2 separate regions of the Homo sapiens genome follow, and region 1 is linked to region 2. The links are contacts of gene promoters, found by promoter capture Hi-C in blood cells and fetal thymus (Javierre and others, 2016). All regions are on one chromosome and are shown on one strand. The core of a region is centred on a gene start or on the middle of the fragment in contact, and the rest is flanking DNA. Distances in the headings are between cores, read along the strand shown.

The links. The method cuts DNA at HindIII sites, captures the fragments that hold promoters and counts their contacts. A CHiCAGO score of 5 or more calls a contact.
Region 1: a contact is called between a fragment that was not itself captured here and the fragment with the promoter of C1QL4 in region 2, in 1 of 17 cell types (M2 macrophages). The highest score is 5.4, in M2 macrophages.

The regions. Positions count from the first base shown.
Region 1 is chr12:49,063,267-49,068,302 of GRCh38, forward strand. RHEBL1 (RHEB like 1) reads right to left here. Exons shown (of 8, transcript NM_144593.3): 3 at 3,702-3,769; 4 at 3,353-3,435; 5 at 3,210-3,266; 6 at 2,965-3,012; 7 at 2,084-2,165; 8 at 1,410-1,926. The coding sequence ends at 1,837. Among named protein-coding and RNA genes, the nearest start is that of RHEBL1, 4.2 kb to the right of the region's middle. The HindIII fragment of the contact is 428 bases long and covers 2,837-3,264 here.
Region 2 is chr12:49,335,504-49,340,411 of GRCh38, forward strand. It overlaps C1QL4 (complement C1q like 4), which reads right to left and starts at 1,685. Exons shown (of 2, transcript NM_001008223.2): 1 at 438-1,685. The coding sequence starts at 974. RefSeq lists an enhancer at 281-1,080 and a silencer at 1,449-1,858. The HindIII fragment of the contact is 8,443 bases long and covers 1-2,406 here.

The sequences.
Region 1 (5,036 bases), core at 1,801-4,300, 270 kb before region 2:
TTTTAACATAAGGAGAGACAGTGGTGACCTACCAGAAGAACCTCCTAAGCCAGTGAGATTGTTGTTTGGAGTATGTTTCTTCTAGCAGCCCTTATTTCTTTTTAGATTCTGGATCAGAAAAGCAAAAGCAGCTGTCAGGACTTTTGAAAATCAGCATGACAAGCCATATCCCCAACTGTAAGCCTGGAGCCAGGCACTGACAAAGTCACAGCTAAAAATCACATCTAGGTTTTGTCAATCCTTCCCAAGTAAGTACATTGATAGGGTACCTCGGGCTCCCCCAGTTGTCAGAAGAGGTCTGTACCTTCTCTGTGAAGATCTACCATTCAAATAACCCTTACACATCCTTGGAGGAGGTATTAGACTAGTTAGGCAATCAGGCTGGTGGGAGGGTGGGGATCAAGAAAAGCAGAGGCAAACAGGACCAAACTTTCCTAGCTGAAATATCAATTCATTGAGGCGGTAGGCCCATAAAAGCAGAACCAATAGCCTTTGACACCTAAAAAAAAGTAGCACACCACCAAAGGTGTAAAAAGTACAAAAAGATTAAAGGTATGAAAACAGCAAAGAACGGCCATTTTAATGGAAGACACTGGGGACATGGAGGGCCAGGGGACTGATATGCACCGGAGGCATTATTTCTTACTTTACTCAACACTCTTGGGAAGTCAAAGTCTTCACAACACTTTAGTCTCTGCCTCTACACTCCTTCTCAATTCTTACATCATTAGGAATGAGGGGCTTCCTTTCTTCTCCTGAAACCCCATCATCTTTGAATCCAAGCAAATGCCGAGGCCCCAGGAAGACAGCTAGGTCAGCATGTTGCAGTTGGCCACTAGAGGGTGGTGTTTCTGTAATTAAGGGGATCTTGAAAGGCTACAAAACTTGGATGGGAGTGGCAGCCAACTGGACTTAGTATATGAGGAACCCAGCAGAATAGAAAGGTGGGAAAGGCAAGTAGTAAATCTTAGGATAATGGTCCTTAATAAGTGAGGAATAAGGAATAGGAACAAGGTAGGAGGAAAGATATCCCACCAAAGACCACAGCCATCACTCCTTGGAAAAAGAGATCTTGGCTCTGAGCTCTCACTAGATACATAGAAGTCAACAATAAAATAAGGCCGGGGGCAGTGGCTCACGCCTGTAATCCCAGCACTTTGGGAGGCTGAGGTGGGTGGATCACTTAAGGTCAGGAGTTCGAGACCATCCTGGCCTAGGTGAAACCTCATCTCTACTAAAAATAAAAAAGTTAGCTAGGCATGGTGGCGGGTGCCTGCAGAAGACTGAGGCAGGAGAACTGCTTGAACCTGGGAGGCGGAGGTTGCAGCGAGCCAAGATTGCAGCACTGCACCACTCCAGCCTGGGCAACAGAGTGAAACTCCGTCTCACACACACACACGAAAAAGAAGTCAACAACAAAAGATTTCTCAATTTATTTGCATATATACATTGTCACCCCAGGGAGCCAGCTCTATTTCAGAAGTCCCCGGCTCCCCTTACCCAGCCAACACCCAAAACCCACCCAAGAGGATGGGTCCTGGATAAATAATGCCCAGGACTCATATCCTGACCCCATAGGTTATAACAGAATTCATCAAACAAAAACAGAGGGCTAGAGGCCAGTGTCCATGAGAGGTCCTTGCCCCTTTGTAAACATTGACATCCAGGCCACTGGAGCCTGGGGAAAGTGTGCAAACATGAGGATGCCACACTGTGTGTCCAGGGGCCAGGAACACAGCTGGCAACCATACCCGTGAAGTCCTGAGGATCTGCCCCCCACTGGAACATGGCAAGTGCCGGGGGCAGAAGCAAGGCAGTTACCCCACACCCAAGGGCTCACATGAGATGGCAGCGACGCTCTTGCCCATAGGAATTCTCCACACGGGCAATCTCCTGGATGACTTTGGTGAAGATGCCTTGAGTCAGCTATAAGAGGAGAGGATTCAGGGCAAAAGTCAGTTCAGTGCCAATACCACCCAGCTCTGGGGTGAAAGCCCCATTCCCGCAACATTCCCACCACCAAGCAGTACAATAAGGAAAACACAGCTACCATCACCACCCTTCTAGTCTTCAGGCCCAGCACCTGATTCTCTCGAGCAGATGACTCCATAAATGTCGCACCCCAGGACTCTGCCAGCTTCTTTCCTTCAACTGCCTGTACCTCTCTGGAAGCAAATTTGGGACATAAAGATGGAGGATAGAAATGTCAGTAAGTGCTCTGAAAAATCTTCAGAATCAAGACTTCCTGGCCAGGCACAGTGGCTCATGCCTGTAATGCAGCACTTTGGGAGGCCGAGGTGGTGGATCACTTGAGCTCAGGAGTTCAAGACCAGCCTGGACAACACAGGGAAACACCATCTCTATTAAAAAAAAAATGGGCCACACGCGGTTGCTTGTGCCTGTAATCCCGATACTTTGGGAGGCCTAGGCGGGTGGATCACAAGGTCAGGAGATCGAGACCATCCTGGCTAACATGGTGAAACCCCGTCTCTACTAAAAATACAAAAAATTAGCTGGGCGTGGTGGCACGCGCCTGTAGTCCCAGCTACTTGGGAAGCTGAGGCAGGAGACTCGCTTGAACCCGGGAGGCAGAGGTTGCAGTGAGCCGAGATCACACCACTGCACTCCAGCCTGGGCAACAGAGCAAGACTCCGTCTAAAAAAAAAAAAAATAGAGAAGAAAAAGACTTTCTCTGACCCATGCCATTTCCCCAAGTTTTGGGAGGAGGGCTGTGGAAGGAGAAAATATAGGTAAACAAAGGAACAATGGGTGAATCTAGGACTGAGGCTTGAAATATGAAATTGTGGCTTTTAAGATAGAAGTATTATCTTCCTTAAGCTTCAGGTTAGAGACAAAGAGAGGTGAAATGACTTGTTTGAGTCAGTGGAAGAGCCAGGATGAGAGCCTGACTGATTCCCAGTCCATTTCACTTCCTTTTGCTCTGAGTAGCAGAGATTTACATACCTCTCTGGAGAGAGATCTGCCTTGTTCCCCACTAGAACCACTGGCACCCTGTGAGGAAACAGCAGTTACTTCAGAATCCCCTCATTCCCCGCATTCCCCAACTCCTTACATCAAGGCTGGACGACTCCTTATCAGACCAGGCAGGATCTATATCCGAGCCTCCTCTCTAACTTGACAATTCTCCCCTCTGCTCTCTCCCACCCCCTCATGCCCACACTATGTCCCTATCCCCCAGGGCCACTTACCGGGTTTTCCCATGGCCTTCATGTAGCTTTTGGTACAGACTCTCAATGACTTGGAAGCTTTAAACACAAGAATTGGAGCTATAACTTTATGAGACAGTCCTCAGGTTCTCCCAAGTCCCGCACTCACAACCTTGGTCACTTACCTATGCAGAGAGGTGACAGAATACACAAGCACATAACCATGGACCCCAATGATGAATGAATAGGGCAGAATGCTGTACTCATCCTGGCAAGAAATGGGAAACATCAGTACCTAGATCCAAACCACTAAGATGGCAAAGGTTGGTGGGACAACATCCAGGTGACCCTCCCTGGGGCACGCCCTACTATAGTCACTTCAACATGTATTTATGGAACAGCTCCAATGAGCCCTGCATACTGTTAGCAGGTAAAATGCTTTTAATACTACTTTACGGATGAGCCACAAAGACTACCAGACTTCATCTCCGAGGGCTGAACTGCCACATTTGGATACCATACCCCAACTGGTACCTGCCCTGCTGTGTCCACCAGATGTAGGTGAAACTCATCTTTGCCAAGAGTCACTATCTTGCTGTAAGCTGAAAAGAAAAGAAAACTTGACTGTGAAGTGCCTTATAGGACCAGCGATGTATGTCCCCTGACTTTTTTTTTTTTTTTTTTTTGAGACAAGAGTCTCACTCTATTGTCCAGGCTGGGCTGCAGTGGCATGATCTCAGCTCACTGCAACCTCTGCCACCCGGGTTCAAGCTATTCTCCTGCCTCAGCCTCCCGAGTAGCTGGGATTACAGGGACCTGCCACCATGCCCGGCTAATTACATTTTTTTTTTTTGAGATGAGGTCTTGCTATGTTGCCCAGGCTGTAGAGCAGTGGCTATTCACAGGCGCACTCTTAGCACCCTATAGCCTGGAACTCCTGGGCTCAAGCAATCCTGTCACCTCAGCCTCCCAAGTAGCTGGAACTACAGGTGTGCACCTCTGCACCTGGCTGTCTCCTTACCTTTTTTTTTTTTTTTGGCAGCATTTTTTAAAGTAGATTATTGGTTGGGCGCAGTGGCTCACACCTGTAATCCCAGCACTTTGGGAGGCCAGGGCAGGCGGATCACTTAAGACCAAGAGTTTGAGACCAGCCTGGCCAACATGGTGAAACCCTGTCTCTACTAAAAATACAAAAAATTAGTTGGGCATGGTGGTGCATGCCTGTAGTCCCAGCTACTCAGGAGGGTGAAGCGTGAGAATTGCTTGAACCCAGGAGGTGGAGGTTGCAGTGAGCTGAGATTGCGGCACTGCACTCCAGCCTGGGTGACAGAGCGAGACTGTCTTGAAAAGAAAAGAAAAATAAAGTAATTACTTTTGTTTTATTGATGAATAATAGATGTACCAAGTTTCAGGGTACATGTGACAATTTAATACATTCATATAATTTGTAAAGATCAAATAAGTGTATCTGGAATATTCATCACCTTAAATATTTGGCTTTTCTTTATGCTAGAACCATTTGAATTCTTCTCTTCTAGCTATTTTGAAATGTAAAATAGCTTATTGTAAGCTATAGTCACCCTACTGATCTACTAAGTCTTATTTCTTCTATCAAACTATATATTTGTACCCATTGATCAATTTATCTTCATCCCTCCCACTCCCTTCCCCCTTACATTCTTTTTATTCTTTTTTTTTTTTCTTTTTTTTCTTGAGACATTGCTTCACTCTTGTTGCCCAGGCTAGAGCGCAGTGGCACGATCTCGGCTCACTGCAACCTCCGCCTCCCAGGTTCAAGCAATTCTCCTGCCTCAGCCTCCCGAGTAGATGGGATTACAGATGTCCATCACCATGTCCGGCTAATTTTTT
Region 2 (4,908 bases), core at 435-2,934:
TTCGAAGGAGCCTAGACTCCAGTTAGCTGGTCCAATGCAAGGCTGAGAGACCCAAAGGCCAGGGGGGCTGCCGCAGAAGAAAGGATAGCCCAAGACAGGACGAGAAAAGAAGCGAGTTGGCAGGGCGAGACACCAAAGACATCTGGTGTTGCCCATAGTTGCAATGTGAGGTCACAGCTGCAGAGACACTCAGGTTTAAGTCCTGAGTTCTAATTCTAACACCATTCCTACACTCCGTGAGGCCCTAGGCAGAAGGTTTTCCTTCTCTGGCCCCCAATTTCCTCTGTGGGTAAATGAAGTCATCTATCGTTCTTGGCAGCCTCGCGTTCCTGGATTCAGTGACGCTGTTTCGGGGAATAATCTCAGGTTGTGGGATGAGTGCAGGGAGATCTAGAGAGCGACCAGTCTGAGCTGGGTTGGGGAGAGGGGCATCTCACCTGTCCGTTCTTCATGAGGTCGGCCCACATGCTGGTGCCGTCGCCGCCGCGCATGAGCACGTGGTAAGCGAAGAAGTAGACGCCTGGCATGGGGCAAGTAAACTTGCCGCTGGCTGCCTCGTAGGCGTTGCCCACGTTGGTCACCACGTCGTCGAAGCGCAGCACCTCGTAACCCTCGTGGGGCCGCCGCAGGCCCGCGTAGAAAGCAATGCGAGGCACGTAGCCGGCAGCGGGCGCCACCCCGCCCGGACCTGGACCGGGAGGGCCCGGGGGGCCTGGCCTGCCGGGTTCTCCTGGGGGCCCTCTTGGACCTGGTGGTCCAGGGGGCCCCCGCAGGCCTGCTTTCCCGCGCCGGCCCACCTCTCCCTTGGCGCCTGGCGGGAAGGGGGGCACGGAAGCAGGCGCGCCGTCGGGACCAGGGCCACGGGGCCCATGCGGGTCGCACACCATGCGGCAGCGACCCAGCATCTCGTAGTGCGCTGGCCCGCGGGAGCTGTGCACCAGCAGCGGGATGGCCACCAGCAGCAGCAGCACCATGGCCACTCCGACGGCCGCGCCCGCCACCCTCTTGCGGCGGCTCAGCCGCGACGCTGCCAGGGCCAGCAAATCTTCCTCACTCTTGGGCGCAATGGCTGCCGGGGCCGGGGCTCTCCGCGGGCCAGGAGGCGGTGACCCGCCTTGGGCCTGGGTCTGCACTCCCCCGACGGCTGCCCCCCGCTCCCCTTACCCTGCCTCTGCGGGCTCCAGCCGCGGCGGTGCCGCTCCCCAAGCCGTCCGTCAAGGGGAGGCCCCTCGTGGGTTACGTCAGGGGCAGCTCCCGACGGTCCAGAGCCAGTGGTCCTCTAGTACCCTCCCGTTCAGTCCTAACGATCCTGGGCACCTGAGATCCGCGGCTTCTCGGACGGCTGGTTTCTTAGGGATCTGAGATGCCTGCTCTCCAGACTGCTGCTCTCTCAGGGATGGCGCGGTGCCTGGGTCCCAGACTGCCCAGATAGACCACTCCCTGATGGAGAGGGGACTGCTCCCCGCGCTCCGGACGTCCCGGGCTCTGAGCTGCGGGTGCTGCTCACCGGGCGCGATCTCCTAGTAGGTTTTGCGCTCTGCCTCTTGGCAAGCACCGACTCACCTTGCTACCCCTGCCGCGGCCCCAGTCCCTGCTAGAGCCCTGGCCCGCGCCTCTCTCCTGCGGGCGCGGTCCCTCTCCGCCTCCCTAACCTTCCTCCCCTCCCTCCCGGGCGCGGGTGGTATGAGGCGCCGCGCGGCGGGAGCCACTATAAGCGGCCAGAGGCGGAGCGACCCCTGGTGCCCAGAGTGGGAAGTGCGGGGGCGGGGCAGGCAGCGGCCCCCACCCACGTCCTCCCCGCCTCCCCTCCACTCCCCCACTGCCCCTAGGTTCCTTCCCGGCTCTGAGCGGGTTCTTCAGGGTTTCGCGGCCCCCGCTGTATCTTTACTTTTACCCTTTACCCGGAGTTTGGCATTCTCAGAGGCCAGAGGAAACCCAAAACAGCGATGGGATAAAGAGGGGTCAAGATACAAACACGCAGAGAAGACAGGGGTAGATTCCCGAGCTAAAATGAGGGGGAGGGACCTCACAAACAAACAGAAAACAAAATAAGAAGGGCTAGAAAAGATAGAAATTCACCACCCCACGCACCTCAGCGCCCGTGACCGAATAACATGGTAAAGGATTCAACTGATACTAGTTGGCCTGAACTGGAAAAGGCAAATCTCTAGCCAACCCTACCCCCACCCCTCAGTATTGGGGCGCGGAGCGGAGTGTGTGTGTGTGTGTGTGTGTGTGTGTGTGTGTGTGTGTTTGTGTGGAGAGAGAGAGAGAGAGAGAGAGAGAGAGAAAATAAGAGAACAGATCAGCCCGGGGGAGCAAGCAAGAAACCGACAAGAAAGCAGAGAAGGAGCGACAGAAATCAAAGAGAAGGAAAGCTAGATAGAGATGCAGAGACAGAGACAAAGCTTCGAAAAGAGACGGACTGACAGCCCCAGAGGGGGAGAGGGAGAGACAGAGACAGAGGAAGAGAGACAGAGCCGGGACAGGTTGACAGATCGAGAGAGAAATGTAAATGGCGCGCTGCAGAGAGACACCCAGGTCCGTGTTTGGACTCCAATGTGACATATCAACTGTGGGGAAGATGCGGGGGCAGGGCGGCTCTGCCAGCAGTGCTAGGCTCTGGGCCTGTGCATTGTGACAGTGTGCTCCAAAGTGTGGAGGTGGCCATGGGATCCTGGCCCTGTGTGTCCCTGGGTGAGTGCGATTGTGGATTGTGTGTTGTCTTTGTGTATGTATATGTGAGGGCTGTTTGAAGGGAGGTATTTGTATTTGTCTTCCTCCTAGTCCCTCAATTTGGAGCCCACAAATGCCATTTTTCCTACCTTGGGACTGAGAATGAAGGACTCTACTGGACAGAGAGGAAGTCAGAAGACAGCTGTCTTCTCATTTGCCCTGCCCAGCTCAGCCCAATGCCACCCCTGCCCTGGTCCCAGACTTATCCAGTCCCAGGAGTCTCTGCCCCTTCCTCCTTCTTCAAGAGTTTGTTGTTAGATGAAACCCAGAGAAGTTGGATCCCACATAATGGGTATTTGGGTGGGGGTTGAAGTTGGCCATGCAAATTAATGTAAGTAAAATGCAGATTAGGTGCTAGGCACCCTCCTGTAAGAGGGGACTGTATCTGTCTTTCCGAGCGGCCAAGACATTGCTAGACACAGGCATTGCTAGATCAGAGTCCAGAGAAAAAGCTACTGGCTGCATCCTCTCTTAGGGCCTGGGCCTTCTGGGGAAAATGTCTTGCTCACAGGGACCCCAGAGGCTAGGAAAACAGGTTCTAGGACTGGTAAAAAGTGGGGGCATTTGGAGACCCTGGAGGTGAGCAGCTGCAAAGGCCTCTTAGAGACCAGGATAAGCCAGGACTATCATGTATGGGAGAACATTGTGTAAGATGGAGGGCACAGGGCACACCAGGGCATGATTATTGGATGGAGAGTGATTTCCTCCTCTCTTGTTTTCTGTACTCCTTCCTTGCACCCCCGACCCCCGCCTCATAATGATGCTGGGAGAGAGAGGTTCCTAAGGCTGGGCCTGTGTTGGGGGTTGGGGGAGGCCCCTACATGTCTGCAAGGAGTGGGAGAGAAAGGATTGGCAGTCAGTGGGGGAGGGGCCTCCTCCTCCAACCATAAATACAAATTTTATTCAAGGTCTTTGTCGCCATTTGTCTTCCTCGGGGGGCTGAGGGCCGTGTCAGCCCTCTGCATGTCTAATTCCGGATCTGCTCCCCCAGGCTGGATGATGGATGGATCAGAGAGCAGGCCCAGGCTCACACCAGCCTCCCCTGCCTGATCCTCAGGCCCCATCCACCCCAGGTCCTGACTCCTCTCCCTCCCTTTTCCCTCCCTCCACTCACCAGAGACCCCCTCTGCCCAGCCACACTCCTCACTCCACTCATTCTACTCACCAAGGTCCCCTTTTTAAGTCCCTCACCTCAGCCCCTTTCAGGTCCCAGTCCTCTTCTCTCTAGAGCTTCCCCTCTCCTCCCATCCCCAGCCCAGGCTGTGAGATGTGGTGACCAGCAGGGCTGCAGGCAGCAGCGGATCTGTGTGGTCGGGGGAGCCGGCTTGGCTCACGGGGAGCTGAGGGGCCAGCTCCATGAATTTATTCATGTTCTGTTGCTCTTTTCCCACACTCTGGAATGAAGCTGCCAGCTCACCAGGTCCTTATTGCTTCCCCTGCAGCTGCCACATTCTGCCAAGAAGGGACCTGGGTGGGGCCAAGGCCAGCCTGTGCACCTTGGGCCAGAAGCCAAGTGTCTGGGCTCGAGGCAATGCTGGGGCCCAGGCCAGGGTCTGGGACAATTTTCCCAGAACTCCTCTGGCAGCCAAACTGGGAAGCCCCAGGGAGGTGGTATGGTTGGGAATGGGAAGTAGGTAGAGAAGGGTGTGCTGCAGGACAAAGAAGGGGCAGTGGAAGTGGGGGGCAGAGTTGGCAGGGGGAGCGGAGAGGAGAGGAAGCCTTTAACAGTTTCCTAGGCTCCCCCACTTAAAGGTTAATGCAGCCTTCAGACAGACCAGTCTGTCCTTGACTCTGCATTAGCCTTGACCCTAACCCCTATTTATATACTCGACTCCTCTTCAATCCTAAAATGAATTTTAACTCCATAAACTGACCCTAAATGGAATGCCTCCCTCACCTGTCCTGGAACCCAGGGGGATCCCCAGAATCCCCCCCAGGGCTATAGCTAGGTGTGTGTCAGAGTTCTGAGGACCAGACTTTGGATTAGCATGTGATTAGCATATGATTTGCATGTGATATGTGCCTTCTACTCTGTGGAAGTTTTCATGTTAAAATTTTATGAAGTCTAGTGGAAAGGTCCTGGCTCCTTGAAAGTTCTCTCTTTTTGTTCCTTCTCTCACACTTACTGTCACTGACCCAGACCCCCTCAAGGGAAGAAAGGGGGTGAAGAGG